Regions from separate parts of the Homo sapiens genome. Here regions 1, 2 and 4 are each linked to region 3. The links are contacts of gene promoters, found by promoter capture Hi-C in blood cells and fetal thymus (Javierre and others, 2016). All regions are on one chromosome and are shown on one strand. The core of a region is centred on a gene start or on the middle of the fragment in contact, and the rest is flanking DNA. Distances in the headings are between cores, read along the strand shown.

The links. The method cuts DNA at HindIII sites, captures the fragments that hold promoters and counts their contacts. A CHiCAGO score of 5 or more calls a contact.
Region 1: the fragment with the promoter of RCCD1 here is called in contact with the fragment with the promoter of NGRN in region 3 in 8 of 17 cell types (naive CD8 T cells, non-activated CD4 T cells, total B cells and 5 more); the score reaches 9.4 in naive CD8 T cells.
Region 2: a contact is called between a fragment that was not itself captured here and the fragment with the promoter of NGRN in region 3, in 1 of 17 cell types (naive CD4 T cells). The highest score is 5.4, in naive CD4 T cells.
Region 4: a contact is called between the fragment with the promoter of FURIN here and the fragment with the promoter of NGRN in region 3, in 4 of 17 cell types (naive B cells, erythroblasts, total B cells and 1 more). The highest score is 7.3, in naive B cells.

What each region holds. Positions count from the first base shown.
Region 1 is chr15:90,953,501-90,956,200 of GRCh38, forward strand. It overlaps RCCD1 (RCC1 domain containing 1), which reads left to right and starts at 1,384. Exons shown (of 8, transcript NM_001017919.2): 1 at 1,384-1,448. UNC45A (unc-45 myosin chaperone A) reads left to right here. Exons shown (of 20, transcript NM_018671.5): 20 at 1-593. The coding sequence ends at 216. It overlaps RCCD1-AS1 (RCCD1 and UNC45A antisense RNA 1), which reads right to left and starts at 993. Exons shown (of 2, transcript NR_170325.1): 1 at 835-993. RefSeq lists enhancers at 1-241, 1,066-1,620, 1,421-1,530 and a silencer at 1,751-1,880. The HindIII fragment of the contact is 3,970 bases long and covers 851-2,700 here.
Region 2 is chr15:90,989,975-90,992,674 of GRCh38, forward strand. All of the region lies in intron 1 of PRC1 (protein regulator of cytokinesis 1), which reads right to left. Among named protein-coding and RNA genes, the nearest start is that of PRC1, 3.2 kb to the right of the region's middle. The HindIII fragment of the contact is 7,498 bases long and covers 1-2,700 here.
Region 3 is chr15:90,264,350-90,267,049 of GRCh38, forward strand. NGRN (neugrin, neurite outgrowth associated) reads left to right here and starts at 1,323. Exons shown (of 3, transcript NM_001033088.3): 1 at 1,323-1,527; 2 at 1,939-2,049. The coding sequence starts at 1,364. It overlaps TTLL13 (tubulin tyrosine ligase like 13), which reads left to right. Exons shown (of 15, transcript NM_001396017.1): 15 at 371-1,128. The coding sequence ends at 618. It also overlaps a transcript of CIB1 not described here. RefSeq lists enhancers at 335-1,306, 794-923, 1,284-1,513, 1,307-2,277. The HindIII fragment of the contact is 8,147 bases long and covers 1-2,555 here.
Region 4 is chr15:90,867,313-90,870,012 of GRCh38, forward strand. FURIN (furin, paired basic amino acid cleaving enzyme) reads left to right here and starts at 1,276. Exons shown (of 16, transcript NM_002569.4): 1 at 1,276-1,399. RefSeq lists enhancers at 1,808-2,700, 2,250-2,299, 2,367-2,661, 2,400-2,509, 2,447-2,700. The HindIII fragment of the contact is 27,514 bases long and covers 1-2,700 here.

The DNA.
Region 1 (2,700 bases), core at 134-2,633, 690 kb after region 3:
TCCAACCAGGAGCTGCAGCACCGGGGTGCTGTGGTGGTGCTGAACATGGTGGAGGCCTCGAGGGAGATTGCCAGCACCCTGATGGAGAGTGAGATGATGGAGATCTTGTCAGTGCTAGCTAAGGGTGACCACAGCCCTGTCACAAGGGCTGCTGCAGCCTGCCTGGACAAAGCAGTGGAATATGGGCTTATCCAACCCAACCAAGATGGAGAGTGAGGGGGTTGTCCCTGGGCCCAAGGCTCATGCACACGCTACCTATTGTGGCACGGAGAGTAAGGACGGAAGCAGCTTTGGCTGGTGGTGGCTGGCATGCCCAATACTCTTGCCCATCCTCGCTTGCTGCCCTAGGATGTCCTCTGTTCTGAGTCAGCGGCCACGTTCAGTCACACAGCCCTGCTTGGCCAGCACTGCCTGCAGCCTCACTCAGAGGGGCCCTTTTTCTGTACTACTGTAGTCAGCTGGGAATGGGGAAGGTGCATCCCAACACAGCCTGTGGATCCTGGGGCATCTGGAAGGGCGCACACATCAGCAGCCTCACCAGCTGTGAGCCTGCTATCAGGCCTGCCCCTCCAATAAAAGTGTGTAGAACTCCACTGTGTGCCCTGTCCTTGGGCAGGGAGGGCTGCTGTGAGTGGGAGTCTCTGAGTGGGTGAGTGTGGGTGAGTATGGGTGTGAGCTGGGCGTGGGTGAGTGTGCAACGGAGCTTCACAGTGGCAGACCCACCTCCATGGAAGGAATCCAATGGATTCCCCAACCAGGGCCCACTGAGTTGCTTCTTAATCCTACTGGAGGGACAAAGGGTAAGCCTAGGAAGCTAATCAATAAGAAACTCACCAGGTGCGGTGCCTCAAGCTTGTAATCCCAGCGCTTTGGGAGGCTGAGGCAGGTGGATCACTTGAAGTCAGGGGTTCGAGACCAGCCTGGGCAACAAGCAAAACTCTTTCTCTATAAAAATACCAAAAAAAAAAAAAAAAAAAAAAAAAGAGCAGAGTGTGGCGGCATGCACCTGTAATCCCAGCTACTCGGTAGGCGAAGGTTGCAGTGAGCCCAGAGCGCAGCCTCCCAAAGTGTCGCCTGGGCGACACAGCGAGACCCTATCTCAAAAAATATTAAACTATCCCAAGAAATAAGTCGTTTAGGGTAGAGACTCCCATATGCTGGGCCTTCAGTACGTTTGTCTTTATATTGGGAGTCCTCTGTGGCCTCCGCTGAGGGCGCTGGGGCGGGGGTTGGGGTTGGTGGCCAGCTGAGCCTGGTTGAAGGGCGGCTTGGGCCCCGCCCACCACCCCAGCACGTTCGAGGAGGGCTAAGCCCAGCGTGAGGCTCGTTGGCTCGACAGAGGCACGTGACGGGTCCTGAGCCAATCCGTGGAAGGTAAAAGCTGCTTCCTGTTGGGGCATGAGTCCGGCGCGTGTCGGGTTTTGAGCTGCCGCGGTCCCGGGACTGAGGTGGGTGGCGGGGTCCGCCCGTCTTGGGCGTCACTCCTCGCCAAACCTTTAGCTCAAGTCTTAATGAATGTCCTCTCTGTGGTTCTAATCCGAGCTCCAGCCCCACGGGTTCCTGCAGGGGCGGGACCACCTGGCCCAACCTCTGCCTTGGTCCAACGCCCCCGGTTTCCTCCAGGGCCTTGGTCCAACGCCCCTCGGAGGTTTCAGCCCATTTCACAGACCGGGCCGCAGGGCCCCGGCGTAGGCCTCGGGACCGGAGAGGCCCTCAAGGGGAGTTGAACAGGGCTGCGGCCGCCGCGCCCCGGGCGGCGACGTCACCGCCCTTGCTGGTGATTGGCCGCCTCGCGCCGCGCGCCCTTCAAACCTTTTCTCCCCGTGGCTGTCGGCGCCCGCTGGGCGGGAGGCCTTTCCGGAGGCGGCCGCTCTGCGCCTCGGCGTTTCCTCCAAGGCTGCCCACCAGAAGGACCTGCCCGAGAGGGTAGAGGGCATAGGGTCAAGATCAAGGTCAGAGGCCCCCTTGGGTTGGGAGAGGACACGGAAGGGGTTAGGAGCCCAGGAACTGGGGTCTCAGGAGAGACCCAGGATCTGACTTAAGAGGCCTGAAAATGCCCATGCAATTCTGCTTCAGCCCGGGTGCAGCGGCTCACGCCTGTAATCCCAACGCTTTGGGAGGCCGAGGCGGGCGGATCACTCGAGCCCAGGAATTTGAGACCAGCCTGGGCAGCATAGCGAGACCCCTGTCTCTATTATATTAAAAAAAAAAAAAAACAAACCCGCTCCAGCCGAATCTGCTTGAAGTTGGCGTTGCTGTTGTAACCACCAGACTGTTTGTCTCCCCATTTAACGGTTAGCTCCTTGGGAGCAGACAGCTGTCCTCACTGGCAGAGGAGGAGCGCTCAGTAAATGCTCGCTGGACGAATAAATGGCTAGATAAGGTACAGTTGAAATTCTGTCTGTATAAGTTTCTCAAAACCAGTAAGATGTCCAGGGATAATTTTTTTGTCAACACTAAATACTGGATTCAGTAAGCTAATACTGTGTGTTTATCATGGCATGTACTCGCACCAAACCCTTTATTTGCATTTATTACAATTCTGTGAGGAAGGTTCAAACAGCACCGCCCCCACCTCCCTTTGTAAACTGAAGAAACGCAGTTGGACTCAGGTGGATTGGCTGCGGTCCCAAGGCCCCGCTGAGTTGCAGAGGCACTGCCTCCCAAACGCTCTTCTGCGTTCCGCTGTGGGGAGAGGGG
Region 2 (2,700 bases), core at 4-2,503, 730 kb after region 3:
CCCACCTGAGCCTCCGGAGTAGCTGGGACTACAGATGTGAGCCACCACACCCAGCTAACTTAAACAATAAAATTTTTTTTTAGGCCGGGTGCGGTGGATCACTCCTGTAATCCCAGCACTTTGGGTGCCAAGACCGGCGGATCACGAGGTCAGGAGTTTGAGACCAGCCTGGCCAATATGGTGAAACCCCGTCTCTACTAAAAATACAAAAATTAGCTGGGTGTGGTGGTGGGCACCTGTAATCTCAGCTACTCGGGAGGCTGAGGCAGGAGAATTGCTTGAATCCGGGAGGTGGAGGTTGCAGTGACCTGAGATCACGTCACTGCACTCCAGCCTGGGTGACAGAGTGAGACTCCATCTCAAAAAATAAAATAAAATAAAATAAAAAATAAAATAAATAAATAAATAAATAAATAATTTTTTTTTTTTTTTTAAGAGGTAGAGTCTCTCTATGTTGCCCAAGCTGTTCTTGAACTCCTGGGCTCAAGTAGTCCTCCCACCTTGGGCTCCCAAAGTGCTGGAATTATAGGTGTGCGCCACCTTGCCTAGCCGAAAAGTAGATTTGTAGTTGCGGCTGGGGAGAATTTGGACCATGGGGTGAAAGGGGATTGACTGCTAATGGGATTTTAAAGGGGTGATAAAAATGTTCTAAAATTGATTGCAGTGATGATTGCACAACTCTGAATATTCTAAAAATCACTGAATTATAATATACAATTTAAGTACATTGTATGGTATGTGGATTATACCTCAAAGCTGTTATTAAAAACATCTTGGCACATAATCTAAAACATTTTTGGTTTCTTTTTTTTTTCTTTTTTTGAGACAGAGTCTCAGTCTGGCACCCAGGCCGGAGTGCAATGGTGTGATCTCAGCTCACTGCAACCTCTGCCTTCTGGGATCAAGCGATTCTCCTGCCTCAGCCTCCTGAGTAGCTGGGACTACAGGCACACGGCACCACGCCCGGCTAATTTTTGTATTTTTAGTAGAGACGGGGTTTCACCATGTTGGTCAGGCTGGTCTCAAACTCCTGACCTCGTGATCCGACCGCCTCGGCCTCCCAAAGTGCTGGGATTACAGGCGTGAGCCACTGTGCCCGGCCCATAATCTGAAATGTTTTTGATTTGTGACTTAATTGAAAAACTTACAGATTTTTACTATGGCCGGGCGCGGTGGCTCGTGTGCAATCCCAGCACTTTGGGAGGCCAAGGCGGGCGGATCACCTGAGATCAGGAGCTCGAGACCAGCCTGGCCAACATGGTGAAACCCCATCTCTACTAGAAATACAAAAATTAGCTGGGCGTGGTAGTGGGTGCCTGTAATCCCAGATACTCAGGAGGCTGAGGCAGGAGAATCACTTGAACCCGGTGAACCCAGGAGGCGGAGGTTGCAGTGAGCTGAGATCATGCCATTGCACTCCAGCCTGGGCAACAGAGCAAGACTGTCTCCAAAAAAAAAAAGAAATAAAAATTTTACTAATATATAACGTATTTTATTTGGCCTGTTGGAAATGGGTGTTTGGAATTACCAAACACCCATTATTATTATTCTAGTTAGAGACACTTCCTGTAAGAGGATCATTTTCAAATTAAAAACTAACATTTCTCACTCTTCCTAACATTCAAATTGTACTGAACTTAATTTTTTTTTTAAACTTAAATCTTGTATCATCCTTGACACTTCTTTCTTATATGCCCGCCATTAGCATTATCTACACAAGACAGGCAGAATCTCACTCCTCCTGACCTCTGCTGCTACCACTACCACCCCCACCCTGGTCCAGGTCACCACCACCAACTTCTTGCTGTATGGCAGGGGCCTCTTAACTGGTCTCCCGGCTTCGAAGCTGGCCTCCTTAAGTCCATTGTCAACACAGGAGCCCCAAGTCCTAATCTTCTACTCAGAACCCTCCAACGACTTGCCATCTCACTCTAAGGAAAAGCCTCTGACTTTCCAAAGACCTATGGAGCCCCATTCCATCTGAAAGCCATTTCTTTTGACCTCAGTGCTCATTCTATTCCTGTCACAGCGACCTCCTTGCTCTTTCTGGAACATACCAGGCGCTATCTCCCCTTAGGGCACTTGGATTTGCTGATTCCTCTACCTAGATCTCTTTTCCCCCATGCTGCATGGCTTCACCCTTTTCCTTCTTAGGTCTTTGCTCAGAGATCACCTTCTCAGGGAGGCCTTTCCTGACCCATCTCTTTAAAACCACAACCCCCCTTCCTACACCTTCAGTACTTCTTAACCTCTTGATTTCTCTACATAGCACTTACCACCATTTAAGACTAACTTATTTATTACACTCCTCTTTTGCTATTAGAATATAAACTCTGTGAGGGCAGGGATGTCACTTTTGCTCACTGCTATATCCCCAACACTTGCAATGGTTCCTTGTATATAACAAACATTCAAGAAGTATTTTTCTTTTCTTTTTTAGTATAAATTATTATTTTTTAAATAGAGACAGGGTCTTGCTATGTTGCCCAGGCTGGTCTTGAACTCCTGGGCTCAAGTCATCCTCCCACCTTGGCCTCCCAAAGTGCTGGGATTACAGGTGTGAGCCACTGTGCCAGGCCCAAGAAGTCTTTTTGAATGAATAACGTGACATTTCAAAAAAGTTGTATGATCTTAAGATGCTTCAGAGCAATCATTATGAACAATTATCATGATACACTTAAATACTCCCTGGCTAAATTG
Region 3 (2,700 bases), core at 73-2,572:
TCGGCTAACTTTTGTATATTTTGTTTTTGCCACGTAGCCCAGGCTGGTCTTGAACTCCTGATCCACCTGAATCAGTCTCCCAAAGTGCTAGGATTACAGGTGTAAGCCACCGCACCAGGCCTATTTAATCCTTTCTGTACACTAGACCCTGGTGATAGAAATGGCAGAAATACAGTCCCAGCACTCAAGAGGTAATAGGAACATGGACAAAAAGACATACCATACCAATTACAATACAGTGTGGGAAAGACAGTGGAGGGAAGCATGAGATGCCCTTCCTCTGTGTTGGTAATTGGGCCACAGTTGGGAAAGAGGTGAACAAATCTCTTCTGTGAATACCAACTCAGGGACATCCATGTTTCCACTGCAGAAGGACAAGCCAGCAGAAGGCTAGAAGCCATAAACCGAGTCCTGGCAGGATCAGTGCCACCCACTTTAACCCCAAAGCAGGGCTATTTTCTGCAACCGGAAAGAGTGGCATCTGACTCATGGACTGAATGCACCTTGCCCTCCATGGTAAACTCTGAACACAGAGCAGCCAAGGTTCCCCTCTGCCCTGCGTCTGCACCCATGCTGCAGCGTTCCAGAGCACTCCTCAACATCAATCAGTTCAGGTAAAAGCAGGAGGGAAGCACTCTACCTCTCCTGGATAACCTCCCCAGGTTTCCAAAGGGCATTAAATCTTTGCTAAATGAATGACTGCCACCAAGTTCCACTTTGAAAAGCCCTGCCCAGGAACCCCATTTGTATAAGGCAAAATACAAAGACACCAAGAATTCCTCAATACCCTAAGATTAATTGGGGATCGGTAAAGACTAGAAGATGAAGAGGCGCCAAGGCCAGCCATGTACTCATTTCTGCTCATCAAGCCTTAGCCTGGGTTTATCGCTAGGTGATGGGTCTGAACCCTAGGTGCGGCCCGGGGCTGGAGGCCATCCAGGAGACAATGAGCCCCTTTCCCAGAGAAGCCGAGTGCCCAAGGCACTGGGCTGTCGCCGTCAGAAGACTGCCGAGCGGAAGCCCTGCCCACCGAGGTGGCGGAGACAGGCAGGCCTGGGCAGCCGCTGGGGCGGAGGGACGGCTCTTGGAAACGGAATCCGTACTTTAATTAAAGTTTATGCAGTTTTCCAGGAGCGTCCTGTACCTCATTTCGGCCCTCACGTTTCAGGGAAGCCCTCTCCACAGTTACAGGCAGAAAGGGTGGGCCACTGAGCAGCGTGAGCCCAGATCTTACCCCCACCAAGTGAAGCGGGAAATAACTTGCTACTACCCAGCCTCCGGCCCGCCCCTTCCACTTCCGGTCTTACCCGGCTACTTCCGCTGCTGTTTCGTAGCCGACTGCTGAAGGCTGGTTTGCGTCGACATGGCGGTTACCCTGAGTCTCTTGCTGGGCGGGCGCGTTTGCGCCGCCGTCACTCGCTGTGGGTTCGCGACCCGGGGGGTGGCGGGCCCAGGCCCTATTGGCCGGGAGCCGGACCCCGATTCCGACTGGGAGCCGGAGGAACGGGAGCTGCAGGAGGTGGAGAGGTACCGGCTTCTCCCCGGGCCCTCAGCTTGAAGCAGGGCCTCGTGCCCCGGCGCTCCAGGCCGCGCCCCCTTGGCGCCGGGTGTCCTGCCGCTGCTTGCGCAGCGGCCCTTGTTTCTTCTTACCCGTTGTTAGGGGCGCAGCGTCAGGTGTTCAGCTCCCCTGGGACCACTGGTCCCTTCATTAGTGACGTATTTCATCATCAGTTTAGAGAGTTCGGCATGCTTACAGGCAGTTATTGTTCTAGGTGTTAGCTTTCTGGGTGTACGGAGCAGCTCTAAGCCGGCAACATGGCCCGGTTGCCCTTGCGATCAAAGAGAAGAGGGCTGGGCGCTCCATGATTTAGCCTGAGGCTCTTCAAACATCCATTCTGCTTCCACGCATGGCTTCTGCCATTGGTTCTCTTCCCCCAGCACCCTGAAACGACAGAAACAAGCAATCCGATTCCAGAAAATTCGGAGGCAAATGGAGGCGCCTGGTGCCCCGCCCAGGACCCTGACGTGGGAAGCCATGGAGCAGATACGGTGAGACTCAGGATACCTTGTTTGTATCCGCTGTGATGAGAAGTGAAGGATGCTGGAGCCCAGAAACGGGTTTGGCTTTTTTGATACTGCTTTTATATTTTCGTTTACTTTTTGTCGTTGAAATTTATTATCAGAAAAGTAGAGTAATATAACGAACTTCCCTAACCCTGTCATTATCTAGATTTAATAGTGTTTTGTTTTGTTTTTTAAAGAGACGGGGTTTCGCTATCGCCTCGAACTCCAGACCTCAAGTGATTCTCCCGCCTCGGCCTCTCAGAGTGCTGGGATTACAGGCATGAGCCACTGCGCCCCGCCTGGTTTTAATAGTTTTTAACGTTATGACGTGGTTGGTTCATTTTTACTGAAATTTTTAAATAGTAAATCGCAGACATCACAACATTTAACCCTTGAATGTAGGTTGTGACGTTCCCAACCTAAGGTACAGGGATGCTGGTGCTTCCATAGGTAGGTGCATTTTTCTGAAGACAGGATCTATAATTTAGGAAAGCTTAAAAGAGTTTTTAAGTTTTTTTGTTTTGAGTAGGTAAAGTATTACATATGGCTCAACCTAACAGTATAACATGGTATACACATTGAGAATTATTTGTCCCACCCACTCTCCTGTGGGTACTTTTTTTTTTTTTTTTTGGT
Region 4 (2,700 bases), core at 26-2,525, 600 kb after region 3:
AAGTTTGGGAGTTTTCTCCCTCACTGCTAGCTGTCTCAGAGCTTAGTTCCCAGCAGACAACTCTTGCTGCCTCGAACCCTGGCACACTAACCACCATCCTGTGACGTTCCCACTCCTCATTCTGCGACAGTGGTTCTTTGCTGGGAGAGATTTTTGTCTCCCAAGGGACATTTGGCAATACCTGGAGATCTTTTTGGTTGTCATCATGGGAGCGGGAATGCTACTAGCAGCTAATGTTTAGTGACTAGGGATGCGACTGAACATCCTGCAATGTAGAGTGCAGTGTCCCCTACAGAGAATTATCCGACCCAAGATGTTGATAATGCCAAGGTTGAGAAACCCTGTTCAGGATGACAAACTGATTGAAAACTCAACAAGGGGACCGGGCGTGGTGGCTCACGCCTAATAATCCCAGCACTTAGGGAGGCCGAGGTGGGTGTATCACTTAAGGTCAGGAGTGCGAGACCAGCCTGGCCAACATGGCAAAACCCCATCTCTACTAAAAATACAAAAAAAAAAAAAAAAAATACGAGTGGCGTAAGCCTGTAATCCCAGCTACTTGGGAGGCTGAAGCATGAGAATCGCCTGAACCCAGAAGGCAGAGGTTGCAGTGAGCTGTGATCAGGCCATTGCATTCCAGCCTGGGCAACAGAGCGAGACTCTTGTCTAGAAAAAAAAAAAACAAACCCATAAAACAAACAAACAAAAAAAACTATGAGGATTGAGTGATTCACATTTCTGAATCGAGAGAGAGAAGGATGGGCAGCAGGCTTGTTGAAGCTGGAAGGCCAGGGAGGTCGCAGACTGAGGAAGACCCTGGTGTGTCCCAGGTACCTCCATGCAACCCTACTAGAGAGGTGGTCTCTGGCTTCCTATGGACAAGCTCTAAGGGACCCAGCTATGGGGCACCAGAGCCCAGCGTTCAGCAGCTGCTCAATGAATGTCTGCCAGGCGAGACTGCACCCAAAGCATTTATTAGGTACATAATTGTGGCAGCACTGGCTGGCCATGGAAGGCAAGGCAGAACACAAGGAGCTGGAGCTGGCGGAAGGAAGTCATTAAGTCAGCCAGTGGCTGGGATGCAGCAAAGCCAGGCAGAAGGTAAGTGCAGACCCACCCCAATAAATGAGGAAAATGAGAAGGGCTGGCTGGCCATGTTAGGATCCAGTTCCAGTGCGACCAGATATGTCACCACCACATCACTTTTAGCTCCTCCCCCCACCCACAGACACCCTGTTTGCCTGTCATATAAAGAAGGTTTTCCCAAAGTGGTTTAGCCAGAACTGGAAGGGCCCCGCCCTGTGAAGGGATAGGAGCCTGACTGTTGCAGCTGCAGTGAGTGGCGGGGAAGCAGCAGCGGCCAGGATGAATCCCAGGTGCTCTGGAGCTGGATGGTGAAGTATGGACATGCTTTATTCGATTTTGCATTGACTTAAAGGTTTAATTATTTTAGGAGTTCTTGTAGACATTCCTGAAAAATGCAGGTAGGCAAAAAGAAGAAAACAAAGATCGCAAATGTGACCCTTTCATTCGGAGAGAACACCAATGGAATTTTGTTGTGCACCCTTCTATGCACGTCTGAATGTTGTGTAGACATTCTGCTTACAACTAGGTGTGGGTGCTGCTGCCGAAGGCTTTATTTGCTGTGCCTGAGGTGGACCAGAGATTTCAGAGAAGACTCCCAGAGCACCCCAAGGAGACAACAGGAGTGCTTGGAGTCAGGATGACTGGGTGGATTTAGGACTATGTGATTCTCAGGAGCCTCTCTGGATTAGCCCCAAATCAAGGATAAAGAGAGGCCTAGCTGGACTCTTCCTCCCAGAGCCCTGCTGGGAAAATGGAGCCCCTTTACAGCCCCCACTTACCCATCAGGCCCTGCTCCTCTCACTCATCTCCAGACTTCTGTCACATGCCCAAGTCCTGCTAACTGCTGTGTAAAACTGGTAAGGTGGGATCCAGAGGACCTTGGGCCCCTAGGGCCCCAGGTCAGGAGACCTGGGCTCCAGGGCCAGTTGAGAGTGATAAAGAGAACAATACCTGCCCACAGGACTTGTTGCAATGAGATAAAGGCAGAAGTCACCAGTTGTGGTCAAATGGGATTTTTTTCCAGAGAAGTCTCACAGAGAGTGGCTTTCAAATTCTTTTTAGCAGCAGAATTGTTGTAAAATACAATCTCATGTGAAACCCTAAAATGTGAGACACTCTGGGTGAAGCAGAGAGAGGTGCTCAACTGCCCAATCCTGTCCTCATTCCTCCCTCTCAGGGAGGCACCTCTGAGAACCCACTTTAAAGAATTTTGCCTTATGCAGATTGAAGAGGCAAGCTGGCTGGAAGAAACTGGGAAGCTCCACTTCCCACCGCCTCTGCCTGGGTGGCAGTCATCTGAGCCTAGGCTAGCCCCTCCCCCTCCAAAGACCCACTGCGGGCTCCCCTGGGGCCAGTCTCCAGGATGGGTGGGGCACCTGAAGCAGCAAGTATTGCTATTTTTCTGGGCTGACCTTTCTTCTAGGCCTGAGGACAAGTGGGTAGGTGGGGCCAGCCCTGTCCCTGTTTCCCCTCAATGGAGTTCTCTTGCTCACAGCCTAAGGAAGAAGCGTGAGTCACTTCCTGCCTCAGTCTGACTGCTGGAGTATTGTTCTCCCAACTGTGGCTGGCGCTACCCAGTGTGGCCCCTACAAGTCTTAGTTCCTTGGCGGAGGG